Regions from separate parts of the Homo sapiens genome. Here regions 1, 2, 3, 5 and 6 are each linked to region 4. The links are contacts of gene promoters, found by promoter capture Hi-C in blood cells and fetal thymus (Javierre and others, 2016). All regions are on one chromosome and are shown on one strand. Each heading gives the region's core, a stretch centred on a gene start or on the middle of the fragment in contact. The rest is flanking DNA. Distances are from core to core; before and after follow the strand shown. Region 1 overlaps ERICH2 (glutamate rich 2). Region 2 holds the start of ERICH2-DT (ERICH2 divergent transcript). Region 3 overlaps UBR3 (ubiquitin protein ligase E3 component n-recognin 3). Region 4 holds the start of MYO3B-AS1 (MYO3B antisense RNA 1). Region 5 overlaps GAD1 (glutamate decarboxylase 1). Region 6 holds the start of LINC01124 (long intergenic non-protein coding RNA 1124).

Region 1 (3,158 bases), core at 234-2,733, 440 kb before region 4:
ATTTGTGGGTCACCAAAAATAAGTTTGACTAAAATATTTTATTCAATGGCTCTAAAGGTCAAAAGTGCTTGAAAGGATTATTTACCTCAGATACAAGATAGGAAGTGTTGAAGTATTCAAGAAACCAATTTGTAAAATGAGCCAATGATCTAGAAGTACTCTATCCACAGTTGGGACTCTTGTGAGGCAAGCCAGGGCAGACCGTCACTCAATCCTTGTGCTACATTTTCACTTAAGGACTTTACTGTAAGAATGAATTTAAGTTTAACACTGCTTAATATTTTGAGTCTTGTTGTCAACAAGTTTAATTGTAGAGTTGCTATTTTCTCTTTTTTAACGTATTATCACTAATATGTTAGAAGAAAAAGATGCATAAAATAGTTGAAAAGATGATAGAGTTCAACAAAGAACCAGAATCTTTCCAGATCATTAAATGGAAATTCTAAAATTGGAAAAGACAACCTTGGACTCACTAAATAGTTTTAACAGCATATTGGATACAGCAGAAGATAGAATAAAGAAACCAAAAACAGGTAGATAGAAAATATTAAAACTGACACATAGAAATAAAAGAAAGAGAGCCAGGTGCTATGGCTCACCCTGTAATCCCAGCACTTTGGGAGGCTGAGGCAGGAGAATCACTTGAGGCCAAGAGTTCGAGACCAGCCTGGCCAACATGGTAAAACCCCCATCTCTACTAAAAATACAAAAATTAGCCAGGCATGGTGGCACAAGCCTGTAATCCCAGCTGCTTATGAGGCTGAAGCATAAGAATCACTTGAACTCAGGAGGCAGAGGTTGCAGTGAGCGGAGATTGCACCACTGTACTCTAGCCTCGGTGACAGAGCAAGAACCTGTCAAAAAAAAAAAAAAAAAAAAAGAAAGAAAGGAAAGAGAAGGAAGGAAGGAAGGAAAGAAAGAAAGAAAGGAAGGAAAACAAAACACACTAGAGCTGAGTATAAGATACACATGGGACATCATGAAAAAAAAGTCTAATTTGTGTGTAATTGGAGACCCAGGAAGAGAAGAGAGAGGATAGACTAGAAGTGGTATTTGAAAAGGTAATGGCCAAAAAATTTTCAAAGCTGATAGAAACATCAACCCACAGAGTTAAGAAACTCAGCAAATGCCCTGAACAGTACAACTGCAACAAAAAACCCACAACTATTTTGAACATCAAGTCAAACCATTAAAAACCAAAGATAAAAAGAAAAATAAGGTAGATCATATCATTGCTCTACTCAAAAGCCTCCAGTGGTTTTCCCACCTCAGGGAAAGAACAGAGCCTATGCAATCTGACAACCCCTTGCCTATGACGCCTCTGACTTCATTTCCTATCACACTTCTCCATGCTCATTCTGCTCCAGTTACACTGTCCTCCTCACTATTCCTTTCAGGCACACTCCTGTCATAGCACATTTGCCATTCATCCTCCCTGGCACACTCTGCCTCCAGATATTCATGTGGCTATTCCTCAAGTCTTTCAGTGAGGCCTTCCTGGGCCATCCTATTTAAAACTGCTTTGCCTTCCTCCAGTACCTTCTATTCCTTCTTCCCTACTTTATTTCTCACCATGGCACCTATCATTCATGACACACTATCTGTTTATTGTCTTTCTAACACTAGACACAAATGTGGGATTGTCATCTGTCTGACTGACTATTGTATTTCCAGTGCCTGGAACAGTGGCTGGCATGTGTAGGCACTCAATGTTTGTGGGATAAATGCATGCTCAGTTAAGGTTTGACTGCTGTGTCACCTGACACTTCTTTGAAACTAAAGGTATAAAGTTACTAACCCATCATCATGAGGGTAAAATTTTTGACTTATTTTCCAGTGATGGTAATTAGCCGATGCTAGTTTACATTAATTTATTCCACTAAAATGTACTCTAGAGATCTAAATTAGTACTTATACCAATCAACCTAATTTATTATCAAGGAATCACTGAGACACTATCAGGGAATTCACTAGACCTATGATAATCAAGCCATTTTATATATTACGGAATTCATTTTTGAAAACAAAGAGAAGATTAGAAAATATGAAAGTATTTTGTACTTACTCATCTGACATAATTTTTTTGCCAGCTGGTACTCTCGGGCCATTTCTGCTCTCAGAAACTGGAAAACATTAAATTCTTCAGATAAGTGAATTTAAATGTTGTCAACTCTAAACTCCCTAGAAAATCTTCCATTAATCATTAGTTATTTTGCTTTTAACACTTCCACATGTTTTTCCAGGAGTCAGTCTATAATGAATAGTGAATCAATTAATCAAGGAAATTGAAGTACCTCTGATGGCAAAGCCACATGGGGTAAGGATGATACCTCTGCTTTCCTGCAGCCATACTGTGTATGTACTACTGAACAATTTGAGAATATGTAGGTTGATTCAACTGGCACAGATAGTGAAGACATTAATCACTTTATTTTAATATTCCTTTGGTTCAGATACAGGTTTCATTTGTAACTTAGTCCATAATTATACGACAGTTGAAAAAAATGCAGATTTACAAAATGTACATTTGATATTTTCCAGCATTGCTCTTATATCATCCAGTTTTGTTTTTATTATTTTTATTATACTTTTCTTGTTACAAAATAATACATCTTTTTTTATGTAGGAAATTTAAAAGCTAAATACACACATTCTGTCCCCAATTAAGAAGCACTTAATTTCTACCATCTATGAAAAATAAACACATTTATTTTTAACATCTTCATGTATATTCTTTCAAGTATTATTTTCCATAAATTAACACATATGCATTTACAACATTTAAGATTATTTAGTAACTTAAAAAAAATAAACCATGGATTGTGATCATTTTCTCCTCATGGCATGAAATATTCTTACGTATTTTTTACTTACTTAGGCTACAATTTACTAAACTAATCTTCTATTATAGCTATTTAGACTGCTTCCATTAAAAAAATGCACAAAAAAATCCCCTATACTTTGATGATTGTTCTTGCTTGTGTGTGACACATTCTGAACCACATGCAGGTATATGAGTTTTATTCTGTAAGAGACAGAGGCATATAGTAATATGAAAGAGACCCTTCTCATATACTTCCAGATATTTGATAAATACCCAGACACTGTTTTCAGAAGTAGTTCTCTACCAGTTTTCTCAATTTCTCCCATGGGTTAAA
Region 2 (3,254 bases), core at 755-3,254, 420 kb before region 4:
AACACAGCAAAACTCTGCCTCTATAAAAAATTAATTAGCCAGGCATGGTGGTGTATGCCTGTAGTCTCAGCTACTCAAGAGGCTGAGGTAGGAGGATGGCTTGAGCCCAGGAGCTTGAGGTTACAATGAGCTATGATTGTGCCACTGTACTCCAGCCTGGGCAAGAGAGTGGGACTCTGTCTCTAAAAAAAAAGACAATAATAATACAATACCAGACATTTGATGAGCACCTACTACATGTCACATATAACTATGCTAAACTCTGGGGACACAAAGATGAAGATACTCTACTTTGAGAAGTTCAGAATCTTATAGGTGAAACGGGTACTAACTTCTTATATGTATGTCACAGAGCAAGCTTCAAAATACTATAACAAATGCTTCCCTTTAAGGGGCTACAATGTAATTTCCCATACTGCCCAAACTGAGGAATAGTGATTACCAGGACCAATCAAATTCTTTCTTTTGGGCTCAAGGACTGGAGATACCTAAGGAAGTCAGCAGGCAGTGGAGGCAGAACTGGAAGGACAGAGGTGAAATTGCCTTTGCAAAGATTATAACAGTGAGAAAATTATGACAGTGACACAGATCTGACTTAACTGATGCCATCTTGCTTCTAACCTCCTAGCTGCCCTTGTTCTTTCCTAGGTATAGGCTAAACTAACTTTGGGAAGAAATCAGTTTACAGTTAACACTGAAACAAAGATGATAACCACCCTTTCCCAAAGCAAACCCTCTTCTTGCCTGGGGACCAGACTGCCTTTACAGGATTAACAAATTAGCCACGAGATTCAGAAATTGTAGTTTAGGAGTCATGCAACCAGAGGCCACAAGATTCTGAACCTCCCCAGTTGGTATTATTTGGACTCCACACTCCACAGACTTCAGGAAAAACAAAACAAAACAAAAAAACAAAAACACCTTTTATAAAATGAATTACCAACATTTAAAATTCAGATTTCAAAAAATTTTTATTTTAGATTTCTCTTGTAATATTGGAAGACATTACATGTTTTTCTTCATCCCACTTATGCAATTATTTTACTGTTTTGTGCTACTGGTTTTTATAAGCTACCTTGTAGTCTAATAGGCAAAGACAGAATGAATAAATAGCTAGCTAGCTACACACTCAAGCCCTGCAACTCTGGTGAGAAGGAGAGACAGAGCTGATTAAGCACTATCCTCTATCCTCAGGGAGCTTGGTGGGGGAAACATTACATGATGCAGGAACAATATTTCATGGCATAGCTTCAAATGTGTATACAAATGGTGTCAAGGATCATCCATCACTTACATTCATTTTTTAAACTGACTAAATATAAATTTTATATATTTCCTTTACAGTGTAATATAGTGCTAGGATTCCAGACTCTGGAGTCAGGTTGTCTATGTTTAAATCCCAGTAAACTGTGTGACCTTGAGCAAATTCCTTAACCTCTCTGTGATTCAGTTCCTCAACTGTAAAGTGTGGATAAAAACACCACCTACCTTATAGAGTTAAATTGCAAAGGTTAAAATAATTAGCTACCAATAAATAATAATAGTAGCACTCATCTCCTGCCAGAACTGCAGTTACTATAACTCCTCCTCCTATACTATTGTTAATATTTACAGCTCAGGGAGGCCAGTCCTGAAGGTGAACTGTCACAAATGAAGCCAGTTCTAAACGCCGAAACTGGATGGGGCAAAGAAGGGAGAAAACACTGAGGATGTGGCTCAACCGGTGAGCGTAGGTAGAAAGCTCTGGAATTCTGGAGTGGGTGCAATGAAATACCTAGAGATGCTGGAATTTCAGCTCTGGAAAACTCTTAACACGTAAAGAGAAATGTTATTGTTATTATTGTTCTCCAGAGATTACAAAAACCAAAACTATTTCAATTCACAAAAAACAAAATAAAAATTAAAAAATAAGTTGGATTTGGGGATCATTGTATTTGGTTTTTAGAAAAATGAAACATATTAAAAGACATTTCCGGTGTCCTTTTCAGATTTTTAAAAAGCGACTTCCAGGGGTTCTCCTAGGGTAAAAATAAGATTCAGCCAAGACACCTATGCCAAACAATAAATTGATCATTATACCATGTGTTACTTTAAATGCCACAGGGGCTCAGTGTAGAGTAGTTTGAGTAGTCAAAAGAACAATATCAACATTTTGGAAGTTTCAAGTCAATTTCATCATCTCATAAGATGAGAATAAGGCCCGGGAATATAAATGATTTGTCCAAATTCCATCGAAATTTGTATGGCTAGCAAGTTATATCTAGCTAGTAGTGATGTCTTAACTAATTTTCCAAAAATAAGTAAAAGAATTCCGGGCAAGGGCAAGGACTGAGGGAAGGGGGTCGGGAAGCCCTGGGATGGGCTGGGCCATCTTCGTTATTTGCGGGGAAGGAGTTGGTGCGTGTGCACCGGCCGGTCAAAGAATGGTAGTGTAGACAAGCCTGTCAGAATCGCCCAGTTATCTCCACACCCGTGTAGACACGAACGGCGCTTCCTCACCTCTTCCGACCACTGCGGGAGGAGGGTGCCGCAAGCCAGGCGCACCCCAGTGGCGCGCATCCTCCCTTCCCGGCGGCCCCTGGCAGCCACGGGGCCCGGGGCCCAGAGCCAGAACCAGGTGCGGTAGAGCGGTCCGCAGACTCGGGCGCCCGGTCTGGGGGTGGTCTGCTGTGGGGGCTGGGTCAGACTGCACACCGGGCTAGGGAGAGGGAGACCGGTCGTTGCCTCGGAGTGTCTTACCAGCTGGCGGCCCTCTTCAGCAGACCATCCGAAGGGCACACACCGAGAGCCAGCCCGGCTAGCTGCTCGCGCGGAGCTGGGGGCTCCGAGTCGGGAACGCAGCGTCGCCGTGGAGACTGCACGGCGCGTGGAGGAAGCTCGGGCAGCAGCCGAGGGTGGGGGCTGGGGGAATTGGGCGACGGCGGGGGAGGTGGCGGGGGCGGGGGCGGGGGCAGGGGCAGCCCGGGGAACCACGGAGAGGCAGGGTGGAGGCGGGCCCAGGCCGTAGGGCGGTGGAGGGCGCGGGACGGAGCGGGCGCGGCGAGGAGGGCCCGGGGCGGGGCTGGGAGGCGGGTCCGGGGGGGCGGGGCGGGGCGGGCGGCCGAGCTGAGGGACAGCCCCGCGGTTGTGGGTGTCCCGCGGCGCCGGAAACTGGGCGCACACACCCTCGGATTGACGTGCGCACGCGCACCGGTTACCTTCAGGAGCGCCGAAGAAGGAAAGAAGGTTGGAATGTCGGTGTCCATACCTGATTC
Region 3 (3,380 bases), core at 787-3,286, 420 kb after region 4:
TATAAAAGATTTTCTGCTCCTTTGCTAAAACTGATAATTTGTCTTCTTACCTTCTGCATAATTAGGAACCACTATCTTGTGTGTGGAATGTGTACAACTGATGGTTCACAAGATGATTTTAAGTATTAAGTATATAAAGCTTTTCATTTTAATAATTATGTAATTATTTTTAATGTGTATAATGTATATTAGAAAATTGTAACTTGCAAATAAAATTCATGACACCTCACTAATAATCACGCTTAGGAAGAGGCAAGGTTTTTTTTAAGTTAACTCATTTTAAAAAATAGTGAAATACTAAGTATATTTCAGTAGAGAGGCTATTTAGATGTGGCAAAAATCTAAAGGATAAACTGAGATAATAATTTTAGAAACCACCGCCTTAAGAGTATCTCCTTAATAGATTTTTTTCTCTCATTCTCTCTAGCAAAATTCTTAACATTTGAAAACATGGTAAGAAGCTTAAGCTTCTCCCTAACCATCCACTATAATTACAACCTTCTAGCACAAGACACTGTTAACCATTGTTAACCACTGTCCCTAGTTTCATGTAACAAGCTATTCATCTTAAAGTATCAGAAGTATGACTTAAAATTCTGAAGACAGTCCTTCACAAAGATCTTTATTAGTATTTCTAGAATCATTTATCGTCCTTTTTTTTTTTTTTTTTTTTTTTAAGACAGATTCTCGCTCTGTCACCCAGGCTGGAGTACAGTGGCGCGATCTCGGCTCACTGCAAGCTCCGCCTCCCAGGTTCACGCCATTCTCCTGCCTCAGCCTCCTGAGTTGCTGGGACTACAGGTGCCCGCCACCAAGCCCGGCTAATTTTTTGTATTTTTAGTAGAGACAGGGTTTCACCATGTTAGCCAGGATGGTCTCAATCTCCTGACCTCGTGATCCACCCACCTTGGCCTCCCAAAGTGCTGGGATTACAGGCGTGAGCCACTGCGCCCGGCCTTGATCGTCCTTCTCTTTAAAGTCTATTATTTTGCATAATTAACATGCCAAAGCTTTTATCAGAATTGCACAACCTTAGCAATGGAAGAAAACTTCAGTGATTAATTAGTCCAGTGGGCTTCAAACAGTGTTCCATGGAGCTGAATTACCACAGATGTATAACAGGGGCCACTTTAGGAGCAAGTAGATAGCAGGACAGAGAAGAAGCTAGGTTCACTACCCACACCCACTTTAACAGGAGTAAGCCAGCTTTTGTTGGTTTTATATTAATATGACAAATTCACTTAAGGCTTAGTCCCCGAAACCAGAGGCTTGTTTCAACCACTTTTAAAAGTTTAAAAACTTATTTTACAGATAAGAAGCCAAATCCAAAGATAAAAAAACTGGCTAGGCATGGCGGTTCACACCTGCAATCCCAGCACTTTAGGAGGCTGAGGCAGGAGGATTGCTTAAGCCCAACAGTCGAGACCAGCCTGGGCAACACAGCAAGGCCCTGTCTCTACAAAACACATGAAAATTAGCCAGCATGGTGGTGGGTGTCTATGGTCCCAGCTACTGGGGAAGCTGAGGTGGCAGGACCACTTGAGCCCAGTAGGTCAAGGGTGCAGTGAGCTATGATGGCGCCACTGCACTCCAGCCTGAGCGACAAAGTGAGGCTCTGTCTCCAAAAAAATAACAAAAAAAAAAACAACTAATTTCCTAAACCACACAACTAGCAAATATAATTCATATGGTATTTAAATATGACACTCAATTTCCTTGCTCTAATCTCCGAATGCCCAGTATTCCATCTCAGCATTGTTCAGAACAGTCATCTAAACAGCTTGTTTTAAAAAGCAGATTCCCAGATTTCACCCACAGAGATTCTGATGATAGCAGATAGGAGGTGAGACACAGGGGCCTGCATTCTTAATGAGGAGCGCAAGTGAGTCTGACAGAGATGTAATCGTCACATCACACTTTTATAAGCACTGCACTACACCACAGCACCACTCCACTCCCAAATTCATCTAATTTTACACACAAAATATCCTCTACACTAAAAAAATACTGTGCTTTTCTTTTAATGGAATACTTTCCAACCAGAGACTGGATTTTCTTGCTCCTTGTGAACTCCCTGAAAAATCCCAAATAAGGCTTTTCTGTTCTGCTTTGCCAAACACACACAGTACAGTGTATATTATTTACAACTTCAAAATGGGCATTGGTTTTTCATTTAGACAACGTGTTGAGGGAGTCAAGAAGCACGTAACTGCTACTTCCTTCAAAATTTTCACTTAGAGAAGTGAAAATATGAAAGTCAAACAAAAAAAGACTGTGTAAATCAAAACCTCACTTACTTCTGGCTGCTGTCAAGGATGTCAACTATGAATCTATGCGGGAGAAACCTTCCAAAACCAATCATCCACTTAAGGAAAACGTTCTGTGCATTTAACATAGGTTCAAAATGTAAGTAAGTGCTATCAGCATTCTATGTGGACTTTTTTTTTTTGAGATGGAGTTTCACTCTTGTTGCCTAGGCTGGAGTGCAGTGGCCACGATAGGGTCTCACTATAACCTCCACCTCCTGGGTTCAAGTGATTCTCCTGCCTCAGCCTCCCGAGTAGCTGGGATTACAGGCACCTGCCACCATGCCTGACTAATTTTTTTGCATTTTTAATAGAGACGGGTTTCATCATGTTGGCCAGGATGGTCTCGAACTCCTGACCTCAGGTGATCCAGCCACCTCGGCCTCCCAAAGTGCTGGGATTACAGGCATAAGCCACCACACCCGGCCTATACAGACTTTAATTTGAACTATTTCAAGTTAAAATTTGGGTCGTGAGGATTCTTTTGCTGTTTCAAAATCAAATTTGGAGAGTAAATACATTCAAAATATTTTTTAATATACATTTTGTTTTATAGTTTCTGGTTCATTTATGGTTATGATCACTTATAAAAATGAATTAGAGTTCAAATATAAATTTCCTTTATAGTTTAGAGTCATCTAAGAAGTCTTAGTGTAACATAAAGCTATAGATTTCTAAGTAATTGAAAGCAGTATCACTGTTTACCAATAAAGACATACATTTATAACAAAATGGAGAAAAGAAAACCAAAGCTTGAACGAATAAAAGGTAAACATTTTCTTTTAATACACAGAAGAATTCACCATTCAAGAACTGATATTTGAAAGAGTCCATTTATGTATATAAACATACCTTTGGGAGTATACATGCCTTGTTGCATAGAACCTCCAGGTTCAAAAACAGGAGCCTTAAAATCAGCTACAGCTGATAAAACTGATTCAAAGCTGTAACTGCCTGGAATAATGCCACTTTTGGGATTAGGATTTTCTGGAATATGATATATATGTCAAGAAAAAAATATTAGTAACAAAAAGCCAGATTTATAGCCTTTCCAAGGTACTCTAGTTTCTCATT
Region 4 (3,365 bases), core at 640-3,139:
ATTGTCAAAAGTTATATGCAGTAGGAAGACTATGAGGAAATCCTGTCTATCCCAAACGAGTAAACAATAGTATCCTAGAACCAGCATGCATAAGCTTACTAGACATTACTGTTAACATTTTCAGGAATTCTGTGAGCTGGTTGATATCAGATTGATAGCTTGAAATTGGCTATGGTGGGAATATTTACACCATGAAAACGAGTAAACACTGAAAATCAGCCCCACTCCCACCCCTATCCGCAACCAGCCAGTTTAAACATTTACCAGTACACCACTGCTTATGTACTGGAAATCTTGGGAAAAACTGACTGCCTGATAATTCAAAAGCATGGTCATATAGATAGAAATCTCTTTTTACCAACCTTTTCCTCCAATGCTTTTTTTCCTCATTTCCTGTCTTCTGTTAGATTGATTAAATTTTCTGTAGACCCTTTCTTCTTTTGGTTTAGAAACTAGACATTGTTTTTCTATAGTTTTAACATATTTGCTTAACTACAAATTAGTTTAACATGTTTGCTTAACTGTCAATTTTCCTGTAGTTCTATCCCCTTTCTGAGTACAAAAACCTATGCGTGCCTAGGCCGGGCACGGTGGCTCACACCTGTAATCTCAGCATTTTGGGAGACCAAGGAGGGCGGGTCACCTGAGGTCAGGAGTTCGAGACCAGTCTGGCCAACACGGTGAAACCCCGTCTCTACTAAAAATACAAAAATCAGCCAGGTGTTGTGGCATGCACCTGCAACCCCAGCTACTCAGGAGGCTGAGGCAAGAGGATCGCTTGAACCTGGGAGGCGGAGGTTGCAGTGAGCCGAGATCATGCCACTGCACTCTAGCCTGGGCGACGGAGCGAGACTCCATCTCAAAAACAACAACAAAAAACCAAACAAAGAAAAACAACTTGTGCATGCCTAAATCACACACTGGATGCTGTCCCTGCCCCAACTGTATGATTAGAGTTAGTTTTTACGTATTTTATCCCAAATTGTTTTCCTTCTTACAGTTAGTAGTTATCTACATTAATCCTTCAGACTATTCCATGAATTTAGTTTCATTTCAAACGAATTTATGCTTCATTTGTTGTTTTGGTGGGTTGTCTTCCTCAGCTTTAGGTTTATTCAGGTGTTCTGAAATTTCAGTTGGCAGGCTCACTGAAAGGGTGAGGAGGAAGAGGATTTTGTTTTCTCTCTCCCTCTCACTTCCCCTTTGCCCACCCTCCTATTCTAGTAATGTTATGGTTATGTCTGCTTGGCTCTCTGGGTCTCTAGCCCAGAGCCAGGTTGTAGAATGGCATTTTGTGCTGCTGTCCCATGGTCTTATTGGGCATATGGAAGAGCCTATGACTGTGGCAGCCACAGGCCTGGCTGCTTATATATCCTTCTACCATCCTCAGCCAGAAGGTGGCTAAAAGTCATAGTCCTGGGTGATGGTCAGCATCACCCCAGACGATGGAGAATATGTGGAAGAAATTGCTACAGTTAGAGCACAGGATCACATAACCTCTCCCCTACCCCATTCTTTTTCCCAGACGCTTTTTATCAGCCTAAATGAACCACCTCATTTACTGGCTTCAAGTAGGAGTCTCAACTCTGAATCCTATCTTGTTTGGAGCCCTGTTAGTCTTTTTACTCACAGGAGTCACCACTGCTCTTGATACCTGCGGACCTGTGACTTCAGCCCAGCTGAGCACTTCATGAGCATTCCATTCTCATCCATCACAATGAACATTCTGAATATAACTAACTTCCTTCCTTCCTGCCTTCCTCCCTCCCTGCCTTCCCTTCCTTCCTGCCTTCCTTCTTCCTTCCTCCCTTTTTTCTTTTCTCCCTTCCTTCCTTCTTAATATGTTTTTGGCCTTTTCTTTATATATGTGGCCTAGCAATATCCTGTGTTTGGAAAAGTATAAACCTAAGGCATCACCTTTACAGAAAATATCTTCCACGGAAACATCTAAAGGCAAAAATCCTTCAAATTCAAATTTATCCAATCATTTCTTCTGCTTACTACCATCCTAAATCATTTTTCTTTAGTAAGATCTATTAGTGTGAAGCTATTAAGCTATTAATGTATGTATCATATTAATGTATTAAGACATTAAGGTACGTGGCCAAAATTAACATCTGTGAGACGTGCCCCTAATCTTTTTTCCCCCTGCCAACACCTTGATTTTAACCTAATTTTATTTTACAGTGAGGAAGTAAAGTTGCATTCACAGGCCTTGAACTTTTCCACATCTCGATTTTTACCCATCATCTCTGCATAGTTCCCTAAGGCAGCCTTCAAATGGTGATGTTTCTTATAATCCAGAGTTCAGAAGTGGCTTCTCTTCAATCTTTCTGTGGAATTCTAAACCACGTGATAAAGGAGCTGGTGGTGAGAAATAAGGGAAGGCAGAGATGAAAAGGAATGGGCAGAAGCTTTTGGAGAGGAATAACCACTGAGATTGCCATGAAGGATTCATTCTGACATTCTTTTCATGTATTTAAGGCAATCAAAAAAGAATCCACAGCTAACCACGTAGCTATCAATTTAACAATCCTATCATGTTTCTTCTTACAGTTAAAATTTCGGTTTTTGGGAGGTCGAGGCGGGCAGATCACTTGAGCCCACAAGTTGGAGATCAGCCTGGGCAACATGGCAAAACCCAGTCTCTACTAAACATACAGAAAATTAGCTGGGTGTGCACGTGCCTGTAATCCCAGCTACTTGGGAGGCTGAGGGAAGAGGATTGCTTCACCCTGGGAGGTTGAGATTGCAATGAGCCGAGATCGCGCCACTGCAATCCAGCCTGGGCAACAGAGCAAGACACTATCTCAAAGGAAAAAAAAATGTTCAGTTGTGTTCTGGGATACTGTGTGTATATTGAGAGAGGAAGGTGTATCTGACCACTTTTGCCACCCCTTATTCTCTTCCTTATCATTATGTTTGTCGTTTGGAGAGACTGTCCAAAGATCATGAGTTCTAACATCCAACTTCTATCTAGGTCCATTATATGAGGTGCATAATTTTTTTCTTTCTTTCTTTTTTTTTTTTTTTTGAGACAGGGTCTCATTCCATCGCTCAGGCTGGAGTGCAGTGGTGCAATCTCAGCTCACTGCAACATCCACCTCCCAGATTCCAGTGATCTCCTGCCTCAGCCTCCCAAGTAGCTGGGATTACAGGTGCCCACTACCATGCCCGGCTAATTTTTGCATTTTTAGTAAAGACAGGGTTTCACCATGTTGGCCAGGCTGGTCTCAAACTCCTGACCTCAAGTGATCCACCCACCTCGGCCTCCCAAAGTGCTGAGATTATAGGCATGAGCCACCACACCCGGCCATGAGGTGCATAATTTTAAGAGTATCACTTCCTCTAAAGAATTCGTGGTT
Region 5 (3,392 bases), core at 343-2,842, 500 kb before region 4:
GTTCTGCCAAGACCCAAAGGTCCAATGGCCCATTAGCCCAATGTGTTGTGGAAAGCCAACACAGTGAGTCCCCCTCCGGGTGGCTCTGGAAGCTGCTCAAAAAACTGAGGCCTGCTGTCTGGTTCTTCCCAGAGTAGAATTCTAACAGCTCCTGAAAAACTCAAAAAGCAGCAGTTCCTGCTGGGTTTGGAGGTCTCACAACAACTTATGTAACAACAAGACATTTTTGTGGGTACCATGATGCATGTTTACTGAATAGTTGGGATGCCACGTGACACAGCCTTTGTTAGTCATTAGTTCAGTAGCAAGGCAGATGATCCTATTGGCCAATTGTGAGAAGTTAAATCCCTAAGAAAATGGGCAGAGAGAAAGAAAAAAAAAAATACACCCAGTCACACATGTGAAAATGCATCTTTTGTGTTCCTGGGAAGATTTGGGATTAAGTCTCTTAGTTGATAATGCCTTCCGTATACTGCCTTATTTTTCCTAAATGTAGCAGATATTCTTTTTCTTTTTTCTTTTTTTTTTTTTTTTGAGACAGAGTTTTGCTCTTTTGCCCAGGCTGGAGTGATGTGGCGTGATCCCAGCTCACTGCAACCTCCATCCCTAGGTTCAAGTGATTCTCCTGTCTCAGCCTCCAGAGTAGCTGGGATTATAGGCACATGCCACCACACCCAGCTAATTTTTGTATTTTTAGTAGAGACGGGGTTTCACCATGTTGGCAAGGCTGGTCTCAAACTCCTGACCTCAGGTGATCCACCTGCCTTGGCCGCCCAAAGTGCTGGCATTACAAGCGTGAGCCACCGCGCCCAGCCAGATATAACCTTTTTAAGAGACGTGTCATAGACGGCTGGACTGAAGGCAGGTAGCTGAGGGTTCACATTCATGGCCACTTTCTGTATGTTGTGTCTTCTATTTTTTCCCTCTGAAATCAGTTATATTTTATTCTGTAGCCACTTGTCCCAACAAAGCTACCTGGGAAGGCAATGAGACCATATTCTAGGATGAACCACAGAAGACAGCAATCGACTAGTAAGGAAGTGGATGAGTCCCAGAGGATGTTCCAGGTCTGTGGTGTGTACCAGTTGTGAATGGCTGGCTAGGGTCCAGACAAGAACTGGAACTAATGTGGTGTGGAGAGAGGGCTGGCTGGGGCGTGGGGAGAAGCTTGAGGCAAGTCATAAAAAAGAGGTGCCTCCACCCCCCACATGGACTGGCCTGAGTTATATAGCACTTACATCGACATGCAACCAAAGGTTATATTTCTCACATATATCTGCAATCTCTTGTATCGGATCAAAAGCTCCATAAACAGTCGTGCCAGCAGTTGCATTGACATAAAAGGGAACATATCCCTACAAGGTAAGACAGATATAGGCTGATGAGTATTTTTAACCTTTCTCATTTGCTGATTTTCACAGGAAGAAGAATTGTGTAACATTTATTTCTAACAGTAAATGGCAAAACTTATGTATTACCAGATACTATGTCTAGTAGTGTTTTGTTGGCTCATTCACTCATTCATTCATTTATTCAACAAACATTTTTTGATTGCCTTTTATGTGCCAGGCCCTGCCATAGATGCTAGGGACTCAGCAGTGAGCACAACAGATAAAGAATTCTGTCATTGCGGAGTTTACATTTTAGTGGCAGGTGACAGATAATAAGCTAAATTAAATAAGCAAAATATACAGTATGTTTAATAGCAATAATTTCTATGGCAAAAAATAAAGCAGGAAAGAGTAATAATAAGTGTTTGGAATGATGGTCAGATAGTTCTGAATATCACCTGTGCATCATTCTTTTAAGAGGCTGTGTTGTTTTAAGTGTATTGATATAATAATTATACTGAAACATTGTGGGGTTCAATTATTTAAAAAAGGTCTATACACTGTGAAAGCTGATACACTCACTAACAGTGGACGTGGTTAAATGTTGACATAAACAAAAAATAAACGAAGGAGTAGAGTAATAGATCTAAGACAAGTTTGGGGAAATCTGTGAATCTTAAGCTTTTCTTTTTTTCTGAGACAGGTTCTTGCTCTGTCACCTAGGCTGGAGTGCATTGGCACGATCATGGCTCACTTCAGCCTCTACCTCTCCAACTCAAGTAATCCTCCTACCTCACCTGAGTGGCTGGGACTATAGGCGTGCACCACCACACCTGGCTATTTTTTAAAATTTTTTACAGAGATGTGGGTTACCCTATGTTGCCCAGGCTGGTCTTGAATTCCTGGGCTCAAGGGATCCTCCTGCCTCAGCCTCCCAAAGTGCTGGGATTACAGGTGCGAGCCCCCATGCCCTGCCTCTTAGGCTTTTGTGAAGCTCAGCTCCACCTCTGCTCCTTGCTCAGTCTTTACAACACTTAGATCCACTTCCTGTGCCAAGACCCCAGCAAATAACTACAATTAGAGAAGGAGGTATAAGAATGTAACTGAAACAACCATGTGTTGGTAAGTGGCCTGACAGCTACCTGGCACTGACTTGTGGATACATCTGTTCTGTGAGTTTTTTTGTTTAATAGAGTTTGTTGAGGCTGGATGTGCCAAGTACCATGGGCCATCTGCCAGGGCATGGAAGCACTTTGCTAAACAGAATCCTAAGCTAAAATGGCATCTGTTAAAATGAGATAATACCCAACAAGTAGTAAATAAAAAGTTCAATTAGGCTATATCTTCATGATGCTCAGGGATTTGATTTATTGAAGAACATCAAACCAATCACTTGGCACAATGAAGATAGGACAAATAGTTTAATGACCAAATTTTTCATTTTTTAAAAAAACCCTGATATTGTGTAGACACAGCTTTAAAACCAAATTATTTTACTAGTTGGAAATAAGCAAATTTGAAGAATAGAATTTTAGAAGCACAAGAAAATTGTCTCATATTATCAAGGACTGTTTTTGTCTAGGACAGAAAGAAGGTATTTTAAAACTGGAGTTCAGATGCACCACGGAGTACATACCTTCTGTTTGGCTTCAAGAATTTTTGCCTCAAAATCAGCTGGAATTATTTTCCCCCTATAATTATTGGAAAAGGAGGGAAATTAAAATGAAGAGTCAATGAGATTGCACATGAAAAAAACTTTAGCAGCAGCAAAAAGCAATTTAATCGGATATTTTCAACAGACCATTAGCAGCTTGGCACAATGTACTGAGCCAGTCCTTAAGCACAATAAAACAAATTTAACAGATGAACACATTTAATACATCAAGAACCTAATATTCACCCTCCCCTGCCTACCTTTCATTGCACTTTATCAAAATCACATTGTCAGTTCCAAAGCCAAGTGCAGCCCCAGCTTTCTTTATGGAATAGTGACTCTGCAACAAACAGAGGCTCGAGGTTAGAAGTTGGAAAGTCCCCTAAAAAACACCACTATCCATGAGA
Region 6 (3,550 bases), core at 745-3,244, 360 kb before region 4:
TCGGCGGGGGGTGTAAGGGGAAGCTCGTGCGCAGCCCCGAAGGACGGCTGCAGGTGCGTCTTCTGCGGCGTCAGCCCCAAGCTGGGATGCGGGGGCGGCAGTGCGCCTGGCGAGTGCGCCGGCATGTCGGCGGTCCACGGGTGGAAGAGCCTGGAGGGTGAGCCCAGCGCGGGGTCGTAGGGCACCTGCAGGAAGTCCGGGGGCGCCGCCGCGCCCGGCTGGCCGATGCGGCTACAGGTGGCGGCCAGCAATGCCAGGGGCGAGTGCTTGCCCAGGTCCGGGGAGGCGCTGGGGGTGCGGTCCTGCATAGGCGGCGAGGGAGGGCGGAGAAGAGACAAAAGGTTAGCTCCAAGCGCGGACTCCGGGCCAGCCCGCCGCCCCCACGCCCGCTATTATACCGCCGCCCCTCCTCCGTCCCGGCCGTCCCTCCCCCGCCACCGCACCCCACGCACGCACCCACCGGCCGAGGGAAACTTTTGGTGCCTGCGCTACCTGAACGTGGGGCCCGCGAGCGCTTCTTGCTAAACTACTTGGTGCACTGAGACGCCATCCAGCCTTAGAGGAAGCAGGCGCGAAGTGGGAGGGGGAGGCATCCGACGGGCCCCTCCCGGCTCCGTGGTCAGTAAGAGTCGGGAAACACCCACAACCCCGCCGGCCGGCCGCTCTCCCTCCCATCTTTTAAGCTCTCTTGTCCTCACTGCCTTCGCGCTCCTCCCTGGCCCGCCCCAGGCTGAAATCAGCAGGAGGGCCCAGCAGGGTGAGCTCCGGTCCTGTTCTCGGCCAGCCGGGCACCTCCGAACAATCCCGGATCCACGCGTCCCTCCAGCAAAGGCCACACCGGATTAGGTGTGAAGTTGGCGTGGGCACCCCTAGGCCTGGCTCCAGCTGCACCCATCGGCGGGGTTCCCTTTGAGGTTCAAGGTGCACGGAGTACCAGGAGAGATCCGGACACGGCCCTTTCCACCTTTCTCCCGCCCCCTCCGGGCTCGGCCCTGACCTGGAGAAAGGCCTGCAGCGAGTCGTTCCGGAGGACGGCCACCGCGGCCATGGCTACGGCTTGCAGGCCCCTGGCTGCGGAGCGGGACGCCGCCGCCGAGGCATGGACACCCGAAGGCGAGGACGAAGGGCCGCCCAGCCTGCCTCCCTGGCGCCTGCTCTGAGCGCCGGGGCCCTCCCCGCCCTTGCCCCTCGCCGCGCCCCGCTCGCTCGCCCCGCGCGCGGTCTGAGCGCTTCAGGATCACCTCCAAGAATTTGATAAGGACTTTGCTGGGCCGCCAGCCAGTCAGAGGGAAGATTTATGGCTTTGAAGTTTGCCGCTACCCAATCATCAAAGAATAGCGGCTCTTTCAGAAGCGAAAGCAAATCCTTTGAATCCACAAAGCTCCTATGGTGTGTTTGTTGGTCTGGATAAAAGAACTGATTATTAGGGGGGATGGGAAGGGAGGAGATAAAGGCGGGACAATTAATGAAGTAATCACTATGTGGGAAATGTATATACACAAATAATTGGATTTTCCTGATCAAAGGGGGCCTTGCCGCCTGGAGACCCGCGCTTGGGTTGCTCGAGACACTCTTCCCGCCCCCCCCAACATACACACACACACACACACACACACTTGCAATTAAAGATTTGCACCGACGCAGCGCCCAAAGTGACAAAGTGTCTTTGTTATCTCTGGAAAAATCTGCCTTCGGCTTCCAGGCGCCGGACTTTGAGACGGCAAAGAGTGTAACTCTCCCCTGTATTTACTTGCACACCCTGCACCCTCGCCGCACACGCACCCGCCCGCGCACACAGCGGACCCAAGCGAGATCCCCGGTGGGGCGTGGGACCGACAGCGCCCGGCCCGCCGCGTGTCCCCCGCCCGCCGCGGTGGGGCCGAGGGCAGGGCTGTGACCTGGGGCGGGGCCGGGCGGCCGCCCAGCGCGGCGTTGGGTGGCGCGCACGCTCCAGGGCCGCCCGCCTGACGAGCGACCGGGGCTCTCCTGTGACGTTCCTGCTGGCGACCTGGAAGTTTTCCTCAGGCCACAACTTTTGCAGAGTGGACCTGGGAAAAACACCCGCGCCGCGCATACCCTCAAAGCTGAGCTCGGCAGGACACCCAAGGCGACCCGTCATGCCCACCCGAGGGGAAGAAGCTGTGCTGTCCCGCCCCCTTCTCCCCAGGCCACCCAGGAGGCCCGGGCTGGGCTGTGGGGGGCCGAAAGCCCCAGCGCTGCTGGTGATTTCTCGCCCGGAGCCCCGCCAAGCCAGCGCGCCCTCTCGCAAGCCTGGCAGACCAGGAGCTACTGGAAAAAAGGCGCGGTCGAGGAAGCCTGGTTGTTGTGGTCCCACAAACCACAAATCATACGAGAGAGGATCCCGAAGGCGGGAGAAAAGTCAGTACAGACTTGTTCCTGCCACCTTTGGAAAGAAAAAGTTCCTCACCAGGCGCGGGGCGTGCTTTGCTCTGGGCAGGGTCGCGCTTGCAGGGGCTTGGGTGACCCCCATCCCTCCCTGGCGGCTCACCTCCTGCCGAGGAGGGCCACCTGCCTCCTCCTGGCCCAGGGCGCAGGGCGCGTCCTGCCCCGGCACTGCGGACGCGGGGATCGCCTCTCCCGGGCGCGCGGGCGGGGAAGGAGGAAGAGGCGGGCGGGGAACCGCGGGGTGCTCACCGCCCTGGGGCATTAGGGGTGCGGAACCGCGTTGGAGGCCTCGCGGCCCCGGCTCGCGAGAGCGCACTGCGGAGTGGCCGCCGGAGCTCGGCCTACTCCTCTCCCCCACCCACCTCCCGTCGGACACAGTCTCCACTCTCCAGGCCGCCGGCCGTGGGGGAGCCCCTAATCAGTTCGCGCCCGGCCTCTCTGCCCGTCTTCCTCACGGGAACCGCACTGCGACCGGGACGGACGGGGTGACCTATCTCCCGATGCAGCGTCAGAGGTTAGCCTAACTACAACGGACTCGGAATCTGGACTGTATAAGGATGCCCTCCGCACTTCCATCAGGGGTCGGGGATGCGATGCCTCCGGGCCCACCTTCTCCCACGCCCAGGGCGCGCCTGCGGAATGAGAATATCGTACTCAAGACGGGTGGGCTGCTTGCGACCCAAATACAATGGGTCCCTCGCACATCCTGCACTCGCACGCCCCCTTCTCCCCCAACGAGTTGTCCCCTCTAAAACGCGAGCGGCGACCACACAACTTGGCCGACCCGATCTGGCTTCTGAAGATGAGGTCGGCTGCTCTGGGAGCGGAGAAGGGGAGAGAGCTTAGTGGTTTCATCCGAGGCCTGGCCAACCTGCTCCTTCCCACGCTCCCGTCCAGGATTTGAGTCTTGGAGAAGCGTGAGACTCGAGGGAGCTCTTCCCTGGATGCAAGTCGGAGGCCAGGGAGCCCCTTGGCACACACTCGCGCCTGCACATGCTTGCACCCTCGAAGCGATCTGGTTCCTTAGCGCTGGTTTCCTTTCCAGCTTCTTTGAGATCTTCGAAGTCCCCTTTCCCAGGGAGGCGGGCAGGGCCGGGCTAAGCAGGATGGAAGGCAGCCCTTTTTATTGAATCTGATAGCTACT

What was found. The method cuts DNA at HindIII sites, captures the fragments that hold promoters and counts their contacts. A CHiCAGO score of 5 or more calls a contact.
Region 1: a fragment that was not itself captured here is called in contact with the fragment with the promoter of MYO3B-AS1 in region 4 in 16 of 17 cell types (M2 macrophages, M1 macrophages, total CD4 T cells and 13 more); the score reaches 16.1 in M2 macrophages.
Region 2: a contact is called between a fragment that was not itself captured here and the fragment with the promoter of MYO3B-AS1 in region 4, in 5 of 17 cell types (fetal thymus, naive CD4 T cells, total CD8 T cells and 2 more). The highest score is 6.9, in fetal thymus.
Region 3: a contact is called between a fragment that was not itself captured here and the fragment with the promoter of MYO3B-AS1 in region 4, in 2 of 17 cell types (endothelial precursors and megakaryocytes). The highest score is 5.2, in endothelial precursors.
Region 5: a contact is called between a fragment that was not itself captured here and the fragment with the promoter of MYO3B-AS1 in region 4, in 15 of 17 cell types (M1 macrophages, M2 macrophages, M0 macrophages and 12 more). The highest score is 12.1, in M1 macrophages.
Region 6: a contact is called between the fragment with the promoter of LINC01124 here and the fragment with the promoter of MYO3B-AS1 in region 4, in 2 of 17 cell types (endothelial precursors and erythroblasts). The highest score is 5.4, in endothelial precursors.

What each region holds. Positions count from the first base shown.
Region 1 is chr2:170,791,828-170,794,985 of GRCh38, reverse strand. ERICH2 (glutamate rich 2) reads right to left here. Exons shown (of 10, transcript NM_001290030.2): 8 at 2,066-2,123. Among named protein-coding and RNA genes, the nearest start is that of ERICH2-DT, 23 kb to the right of the region's middle. The HindIII fragment of the contact is 5,215 bases long and covers 1-3,158 here.
Region 2 is chr2:170,770,673-170,773,926 of GRCh38, reverse strand. ERICH2 (glutamate rich 2) reads right to left here. Exons shown (of 10, transcript NM_001290030.2): 1 at 2,740-3,254. The coding sequence starts at 3,245. It overlaps ERICH2-DT (ERICH2 divergent transcript), which reads left to right and starts at 3,161. Exons shown (of 6, transcript NR_110185.1): 1 at 3,161-3,225. RefSeq lists silencers at 2,452-2,591, 2,912-2,971. The HindIII fragment of the contact is 3,287 bases long and covers 361-3,254 here.
Region 3 is chr2:169,928,647-169,932,026 of GRCh38, reverse strand. UBR3 (ubiquitin protein ligase E3 component n-recognin 3) reads right to left here. Exons shown (of 39, transcript NM_172070.4): 18 at 3,159-3,300. Among named protein-coding and RNA genes, the nearest start is that of UBR3, 100 kb to the right of the region's middle. The HindIII fragment of the contact is 2,048 bases long and covers 1,013-3,060 here.
Region 4 is chr2:170,349,467-170,352,831 of GRCh38, reverse strand. It overlaps MYO3B-AS1 (MYO3B antisense RNA 1), which reads left to right and starts at 1,889. Exons shown (of 4, transcript NR_110576.1): 1 at 1,889-1,953. All of the region lies in intron 8 of MYO3B (myosin IIIB), which reads right to left. The HindIII fragment of the contact is 2,320 bases long and covers 97-2,416 here.
Region 5 is chr2:170,845,639-170,849,030 of GRCh38, reverse strand. GAD1 (glutamate decarboxylase 1) reads right to left here. Exons shown (of 17, transcript NM_000817.3): 9 at 3,246-3,325; 10 at 2,968-3,022; 11 at 1,239-1,355. Among named protein-coding and RNA genes, the nearest start is that of GAD1-AS1, 29 kb to the right of the region's middle. The HindIII fragment of the contact is 845 bases long and covers 1,170-2,014 here.
Region 6 is chr2:170,713,011-170,716,560 of GRCh38, reverse strand. It overlaps LINC01124 (long intergenic non-protein coding RNA 1124), which reads left to right and starts at 1,994. Exons shown (of 1, transcript NR_027433.1): 1 at 1,994-3,550. SP5 (Sp5 transcription factor) reads right to left here and starts at 1,224. Exons shown (of 2, transcript NM_001003845.3): 1 at 998-1,224; 2 at 1-302. The coding sequence starts at 1,048. The region is part of intron 5 of ERICH2-DT (ERICH2 divergent transcript); the gene reads left to right. RefSeq lists enhancers at 1-62, 63-850, 851-1,640 and a silencer at 1,858-1,907. The HindIII fragment of the contact is 7,273 bases long and covers 1-3,550 here.